2 separate regions of the Homo sapiens genome follow, and region 2 is linked to region 1. The links are contacts of gene promoters, found by promoter capture Hi-C in blood cells and fetal thymus (Javierre and others, 2016). All regions are on one chromosome and are shown on one strand. The core of a region is centred on a gene start or on the middle of the fragment in contact, and the rest is flanking DNA. Distances in the headings are between cores, read along the strand shown. Region 1 holds the start of MRI1 (methylthioribose-1-phosphate isomerase 1). Region 2 overlaps ADGRL1-AS1 (ADGRL1 antisense RNA 1).

The links. The method cuts DNA at HindIII sites, captures the fragments that hold promoters and counts their contacts. A CHiCAGO score of 5 or more calls a contact.
Region 2: a fragment that was not itself captured here is called in contact with the fragment with the promoter of MRI1 in region 1 in 3 of 17 cell types (neutrophils, naive CD8 T cells and non-activated CD4 T cells); the score reaches 6.0 in neutrophils.

What each region holds. Positions count from the first base shown.
Region 1 is chr19:13,762,776-13,766,742 of GRCh38, forward strand. MRI1 (methylthioribose-1-phosphate isomerase 1) reads left to right here and starts at 1,747. Exons shown (of 6, transcript NM_001031727.4): 1 at 1,747-1,945; 2 at 2,096-2,334; 3 at 3,179-3,354. The coding sequence starts at 1,814. It overlaps YJU2B (YJU2 splicing factor homolog B), which reads left to right. Exons shown (of 10, transcript NM_030818.4): 10 at 1-514. The coding sequence ends at 293. RefSeq lists enhancers at 1-474, 2,944-3,573 and a silencer at 2,117-2,166. The HindIII fragment of the contact is 24,803 bases long and covers 577-3,967 here.
Region 2 is chr19:14,139,305-14,143,271 of GRCh38, forward strand. All of the region lies in intron 1 of ADGRL1-AS1 (ADGRL1 antisense RNA 1), which reads left to right. Among named protein-coding and RNA genes, the nearest start is that of ADGRL1-AS1, 4.1 kb to the left of the region's middle. RefSeq lists a silencer at 3,673-3,967. The HindIII fragment of the contact is 2,934 bases long and covers 267-3,200 here.

The DNA.
Region 1 (3,967 bases), core at 497-2,996:
CTCGGGACGTCCCGGAGAGCCCCCAGCATGCGGCCGACACCCCCAAGTCTGGGGAACCGCGGGTACCAGAGGAGGCTGCCCAGGACCGGCCCATGTCCCCCGGAGACTGTCCTCCGGAAACAACTGAGACCCCCAAGTGCAGCAGCCCGAGGGGGCAGGAAGGGAGCCGTCAGGACAAGCCCCTGTCGCCAGCAGGCTCCTCCCAGGAGGCAGCTGACACCCCCGACACGCGGCACCCCTGCAGTCTCGGCTCCTCCCTCGTGGCGGACTACTCCGACTCGGAGAGTGAGTGAGCGATCCCCATCCTGGAGACTGGACCCGCTCTAGAGGCCCGGACACACCCAGGAGGCCCCTCACAGACTGCAGACCCCCGGCTCGCCCACCAGCCCTGGGAGAGCTCAGATGCCGCATCCTCCCCAGACCGCGCCTTCCTGCAACCGTGGAGTTATTTATTTGGTCCTGGTGAGGGTGTTTGTGCCTTGTGAGACTCCGTACATTAAAGACCTGTCTCTTCTTCCCTGTCTTGGGTTGTTAGATGGACCCTGGGGCTGCCCCCCCACCCCCCCACCTTGACCAAGCTTGGTAGGCCTCTCATCAGCAAATGCTGGTATAGGGTCATAGCTGTGACCACAGACATGGTCCCCTTCCAGAGTAACAAGAGTCTCAAGGTGGTGGTCCCGGTTGGCCAGGAATCAGGACAGACTTCCTGGAGGAGGAGGCATGGGCCAAGTGTGAAGGGTGAAAAGGGGGCCAGGAACCACACACACAAGGCCAGGGACAAGGCACACGGGGTACCCAGGATGTGTGCCAGATGCAGCAGGGGCTGGAGCACACAGGTGTGAGCTTTTTATTATACCCAGCCCAGGGGTGGCCCATGGAAAAGCCCCCCGTGCATGTTACTTTTGGGGTTTTTTTGTTTTGTTTTTGAGACCGAGTCTTGCTCTGTCACCCAGGCTGGAGTGCAGTGGCGCGATCTCGGCTCACTGCAACCTCTGCCTCCTGGGTTCAAGTGATTCTTCTGCCTCAGCCTCCCGAGCAGCTGGGACTACGGGTGTGCGCCACCACGCCCAGCTAATTTTTTGTATTTTTAGTAGAGACTGGGTTTCACCATGTTGGCCAGGCTGGTCTCGAACTCCTGACCTCAAGTGATCTGCCCGACTCGGCCTCCCAAAATGCTGGGATTCCAGGCGTGAGCCACAGCGCCTGTCCTGCATGTTACTTTTGAATGAAACCGAGCAGAAAATGGCCCAGAAACAGCCTTGCATCCATCAAGGGGCACACGACCCCCCACTACCTCCCCCTCAACCTTGGAAGATCATTTAACAAATTCTTTGGTTTGAACACTTGATGTTACCTTGCCACTGGGGATACATCCCTAACTCTAGACAGCAGGTTGTTAAACACGGGGCCTGGTATCCACTAGGCGTCCCATAAATGCTGCCACTTTTGTGGTTCCGAGGAGGCGGCTCACTCCGTTCGGGCTTGGCAGGAGTCGTGGAGTGGGTTCGGCCACGTGGAATCCGCGTCCTGGGAACCCGTGGAATCCGCGTCCTGGGAACCCGTGGAATCCGCCTCCTGGGAACCCGTGGAATCCGCCTCCTGGGAACCCGTGGAATCCGCCTCCTGGGAACCCGTGGAATCCGCCTCCTGGGAACCCGTGGAATCCGCCTCCTGGGAACCCGTGGAATCGGGTTGGATGCGCATGTGCGTGTCTCTTTTTCCGGGGGAGGCTCCGCCCACGGCCCCGCCCCGCTCCCAAGTGCGCGCGGACCCCTAGCTCCCTCTGAGTTGCGCTGGGCTTGGCTGCTGCACCATGACCCTGGAGGCGATCCGCTACTCGCGGGGCTCCCTGCAGATCCTAGACCAGCTGCTGCTGCCCAAGCAGAGCCGCTACGAGGCGGTGGGCTCGGTGCACCAGGCCTGGGAGGCCATCCGCGCCATGAAGGTGCAGCGGGGCGGCGGGGCGGCGGGGCGGCGGGGCGGCGGGGCGGCGGGGCGGCGGGGCGGCGGGGCGGCGGGGCGGCGGGGCGGCCGGGTTGGAGGTGGGAGTGCGCCCGCGCCTGCAGCTTCCGACGCCCAAATCCCTGCCCCGCAGGTGCGGGGCGCCCCGGCCATAGCCCTGGTGGGCTGTCTCAGCCTCGCCGTGGAGCTGCAGGCGGGCGCCGGGGGACCGGGACTCGCCGCGCTCGTGGCCTTCGTGCGCGACAAGCTGAGCTTCCTCGTCACCGCCCGGCCCACCGCTGTCAACATGGCCCGCGCCGCCCGCGACCTGGCTGATGTTGCAGCCCGGGAGGCCGAACGGGAGGGCGCTACGGAAGAGGCGGTCCGGGAGAGGTACGGGGATCTGGTACCAGGCACGGCGCTGAGCAGGAATTATATTGACTCTTTTTAAGTACAGTGACCCACTATACAGATGGGGAAACTGAGGCACGGCGACCTTAAGTCCCTTGTCCAGGGCCCCACAGATGGGGAGACTGAGGCACGGCGACCTTAAGTCCCTTGTCCAGGGCCCCACAGATGGGGCCCAGAGTCTAGCCTGGGCAGCCTGGCCCTGAAACCTAACTCCTTAATCGTGCCTCCCCTGAATACACGCAGCCCCTTATCCGCCCTTGGAGGCCCTTTTTAGTATCTCCGTGTTCTCTTGGTTTCTGCTTTTGAGGAACTTTTTTTCCTGTCCTGGTCCCCTTCCTGCCATCTTTTTCCCCCCACTTCCTTTCTGCTCCAGCCCTCCCTGCAATGTCACTTTACCCCACCAAGCTCGAGCCTGCCTTACAGCCTTTGCACGTGCCATTGGTGCGGGCCAGGTATCCATAGCGCCCTCCTCCACCATTCTATATGATCCAGCTCACCCGCTGCTCTCTGTTGCCTGATTCTGCCGGCTTTTCCTTCATTTTATTATCTCTTCATCAGCTGGCTCACTCACCCCAGTGTCAACTCCACAGGAGCAGAGATTTTTGTCTTGTTTACTGCTGGGTCATACCGGAACTGCTTGGTAAACATGTCTTTGCATGAATGAACGGAGTGACACTTCGGTGGCCCTGGCCGAAGGGTCCAGGCCCCACAGCAATGAGAGGCTTTGAGCAGGAGGGCTCCAGGACAGCAGCGTTAGGCAGAGAGGAGGCGTTGGCCTGGGCCCCGGGTCCTGGTGGCTGGTGCTGAAAACTCCTTGTCACCCCAGAGTGATCTGCTGCACCGAGGACATGCTGGAGAAAGACCTCAGAGACAACCGAAGCATTGGGGACCTAGGAGCCCGCCACCTCCTGGAGCGGGTGGCCCCCAGCGGTGGCAAGGTGACTGTGCTGACCCACTGTAACACTGGTGCTCTGGCCACCGCTGGCTATGGTACAGCCCTAGGTGAGAGGGCCTCCTCAGGGGGTAGGGGAGGGCCTTCTAGGAACTTTTTTAGATACAAGAGAAAGAATCCCAAACCCAAACCACTTTATCCACAAAAAAAATGGGAAGGTACTAGTTCTAGTACGGAAACACTTATACAGTTGGCTTCAGGTATGGCAAGATCAAGGGGCTCAACCAGTAGCATCAGGACCTATCTATCTCTGTGCTTCAGCTCTGCCCTCCTTCATCTTCAGGTTCCATGGGCTGGCAGGCGGCTGTTAGGGTCCAAATCATGAGGAAAAGAGCCTCCTATACTAGAAAAGTCTCCTTGTATCTCAGGGGGTCCACTAGGGCACCTGCCCATCCCAGAGCAGTCATTCGATGGGCCCCGCCTGAGCCATATGCCTAGAGCCAGGGCAGGACGTGGACTCCAGGAGGAACTGGGGAGAAGGGAGTGAGCAGAGAAAGATTAGGTAGCTGTGACCAGGAGACAGGGGGAGTGGGCTGTAGGGGGCCAAGGCAGCAGATTCCACTTGACCCTAAATTCACCAGGAAATTTCCCTACCTGCCTGAGTCCCACCTTCATCCCTGGGAACTGAGGCCTTAATGGAAAGACCTCTGCCTTTGATTCATT
Region 2 (3,967 bases), core at 484-2,983, 380 kb after region 1:
CTCCTGACCTCAGGTGATCCACTCACCTCGGCCGCCCAAAGTGCTGAGATTACAGGCATGAGCCACCGTGCCCTGCCTCTTATACTTTTTAAATTTTTTGTAGAGACAGGGTCTCGCTGTTGCCCAGGCTGGTCTTGAAACTCCTGGCCTCAAGCAGTCCACCTATCTTGTCCTTAAGTGCTGGGATTACAGCGCCTAGCCCATTTTTGGTATCTACATCTCACATTAAGTTAAGAAAAATTCTTTTTAGCTGTTAAAAAATCGAAAGCTTTGTTTTTATTCTTTTGAAATTATTTGGCTTCAAGGAAACTCACATTTATGATTCGCTTGATTTCTTGGCAATCATTGCATACTTAGGGATATTTGTGATTTGAGAAAATCTAATTTCCAAATGTAATTCGATTGCTTATGAATACTAAATTTAATGATTAATGCAGTTGTCATGATGTCACATTTCTAGATGCTTAATTAAACATTTATTCATTCCAACTTTGTAGTTTTCTCTTTGCATTGTGGAACTTTTTTCCCTTTATCCCTGTCCCTGACCTTTTCGTAGCCCCTGAGAAGCTCATGATCCACCAGCATTATTTCCGTGGCGCTAATGAAGAATGTGGCCCTGTCTATGATGCATTCTCCTTACAGCTGGCTGAATGATCTTCACTTGTAAACCAGATCATGTCATTACTCTGCTTAAAACCTTCAGAGGCTTATCCTACTTAGAATGAAACCTAAGATCTTTCCTATGGCTTAGGCGGCCCTGCGTGGTGGCCTCAGCTGACCTCTCAGGCCTCATCTACCATTCTTCCTCTTGTCACCGCTCTCAAGCCCAGCTGGCTTTATTTCCCTTCTTTCAACACACCCAGCTTATTTCTGCCGCAGGGCTTTGCACTTGCCGTTCCCTCTGCCTGGAATGTGCTTCCTCCAGATAATTGCATGGCTGTCTCTTTCTCTTCGCTTGTGGTTCAGCTCAAATGTCCTCTGAAAGAAGACTTCCCAGAGTACCCTATTTAAAGTAGCACTTTCTTGGCCGGGCGCGGTGGCTCATGCCTGTAATCCCAGCACTTTGGGAGGCCAAGGCAGGCGGATCACGAGGTCAGGAGATCGAGACCATCCTGGCTAACATGGTGAAACCGCATCTCTACTAAAAATACAAAAAATTAGCCGGGCGTGGTGGCGGGCGCCTGTAGTCCCAGCTACTTGGGAGGCTGAGGCAGGTGAATCGCTTGAATCTGAGAGGTGAGGGTTGCAGTGAGCTGAGATCGTGCCTCTGCAATCCAGCCTGGGTGACAGAGCAAGACTCCGTGTCAAAAAAAATAAATAAATAAATAAAGTAGCTTTTTCTTAATCACATCACTCAGTTTTATGATCTTAGTAACGCATATCAGAATTTGTACTTATTTTCGGGTGGGCATGGTGGCTCACACCTATAATCCCAGCACTTTAGGAGGCCAAGGCGGGCCGGTCACTTGAGGTCAGGAGTTCGAGACCAGCCTGGCCAACATGGCAAGACCCCGTTTCTACTAAAAAAAAAAAATACAAAATAAATAAATAAATAAATAAATAAATTAGCTGGGCGTGGTGGCACGTGCCTGTAGTCCCAGCTGCTCAGGAGGCAGAAGAATTGCTTGAACCGGGGAGGCAGAGGCTGCAATGAGCCGAGATCACGCCACTGCACTCAAGCCTGGGCAACTGAGAGAGATTCCATCTTAAAAAGAAAAAAAGAATTTCTACTTATTTTGGTTTTAAATTGTGCTTATTATCTCATCATCCCTCAGTAGATTGAAAGCTGGTTGTGAGAAGAGATCTCGCCTAGCTCACACCTCTCAATGTTGTACTTCCAGAGCTTAGCAGAGGACGTGGCTCATAGAAAGTCCTCAATCAATTTTTCAAAAAGAATAAATCTGGCTGGGCGCAGTGAGTCACACACTCTGGGAGGCCGAGGTGGGCGGATTACCAGGTCAGGAGATCGAGACCATCATGGCAAACATGATTAAAACCTGTCTCTACTAAAATACAAAAAATTAGCCAGCCGTGGTGGTGCGTACCTGTAGTCCTAGCTACTTGGGAGGCTGAGGCAGGGGAATTGCTTGAACCTGGGAGGTGGAGGTTGCAGTGAGCCTAGATTGCACCACTGCACTCCAGTCTGGTGACAGAGGAAGACTCCGTCTCAAAAAAAAAAAGAATAAATCTATGTAAAGGGTGGGTTTAGCATAGTACCTGGAATGTGAAAAGTACTCAATAAACATGAACCAGCCAGGTGCAGTGGCTCACGCCTGTAATCCCAGCACTTTGGGAGGCTGAGGCGGGTAGATTGCTTGACCTCAGGAGTTCGAGACCAGCCTGGGCAAAACCCTGTCTCTACAAAACATAAAAAAATTAGCCGGGTGTGGTGGCATGTGCCTGTGGTCCCAGCTACTCAGGAGGCTGAGGTGAGAGGATTGCTTGAGCCCTGGGGGCAGAGGTTGCAGTGAACCAAGATCTCACCACTGCACTCCAGCTTAGCTAGGCAACAGAGTGAGACCCTGTCTAAAAACAAACAAAAGACTGAACTGTTAGTAGCATATAGTAATAAGCAGATACGTCTTCATTCTTGTTTAATACTTCAGGTGCACACATGCTCGAGAAAGTATAAGAAGTGCTATAGCAAAATACTGTTACCCAGCTTAACAGCTAAAACATTAGAGATGCAACTGAAGGGCCCTATACCCCTACATCAAACCCATTCCTCTTCCTTTTTCCTCACATGTAACCACAACCCTGAATTTGGTGTTTACAGTCTTCTGTGCATATCGGCGTGTATCTTTAAACAATATATAGTATTGTTTGTCATGTTCTATACTTTTATATAAATGGTGTCTGCGCAATTTAGAGTTAACCTAGCAGGCCTGAGACTGCTATCCTTAGAAAGACCTGTTTGCAAGATTGGCCCTTGGCTGATATCTAGGAACTTGGATTTCAGGAGGGTTCCTGCCGTTCCCCAAATGATGAGTGCCTAAACTGTTTCCACCAACAATGTGGTTCATGTTGAACACCTGCTCTCCTTCTGGAGTCTGGCATTTTGGTACACGACCACCCCCAAGTACAACTCTGGTCACTGAGTAATGAGCTTCCCTGGTAGACCGCCTATCCGTCGTGCTGTCATACTTGGCGGTAGGAATTGATGGAGTCCTGTGTGACTCCACTAGGAGAGGACTCTTAGAAGCTTGTCCTGGTTTCCTCTGGACTTCAGCTCCTGCATCTTTTCCCTTTGCTGATTGTGCCTTGTGTCTCTTCACTATCATAAATCACAGCCATGCCTACGCTTCCAAGCAAAATCCTGTGACTCCTCTTAGTGAGTCATTGAACCTCAGGGTGGTCTTGGGGACCTCTGATAGCAGGATCATACTGGGTGTATCCTGACAGAGCTGGCACTAAGGTGGCACTGGGTCCTGCCTTCTGAAACTTGCTTTTTTTAATCCAGTGTAATGCTTTTGAGATTTATCTATGTGGAAACGTGTATAGCTCTAATTCACTTATTTTCACTGCTATACAGCTGTGCTGATAAGGTAACCACTAGCCACATGTGGCTATTTAGATTAAAATTAGACGAAACAAATAATCTACTTCCCCAGACACACTAGTCACATTTCACATGTTCAGCAGGAGCCTGTGGCTAGTGGCCACCATGGTGTATAGAGAACATAGAGAGGAAACATTTCCATGAGAACAGAGAGTTTTGTTGGACAGTGTTTATCAATTCACTTGGTTGAAATTTAGGGTGTTTTCAGTTTTCTACCATTACAAACAGTGCTGCAGTATGCGTTGGTATCTATGTCTCCTTGAACACATGTAGGAGTTACTCTGGGAGATAAACCTAGGAGTTGAAGTGCTGGACGGGGGGTTGCGGAAGTATTCATCTTTTCAAGATACTGCTAATCTGCTCTTCGGAATCATGGTACTGGTTCTCACTCCCCTCGTTAGTGTTCCT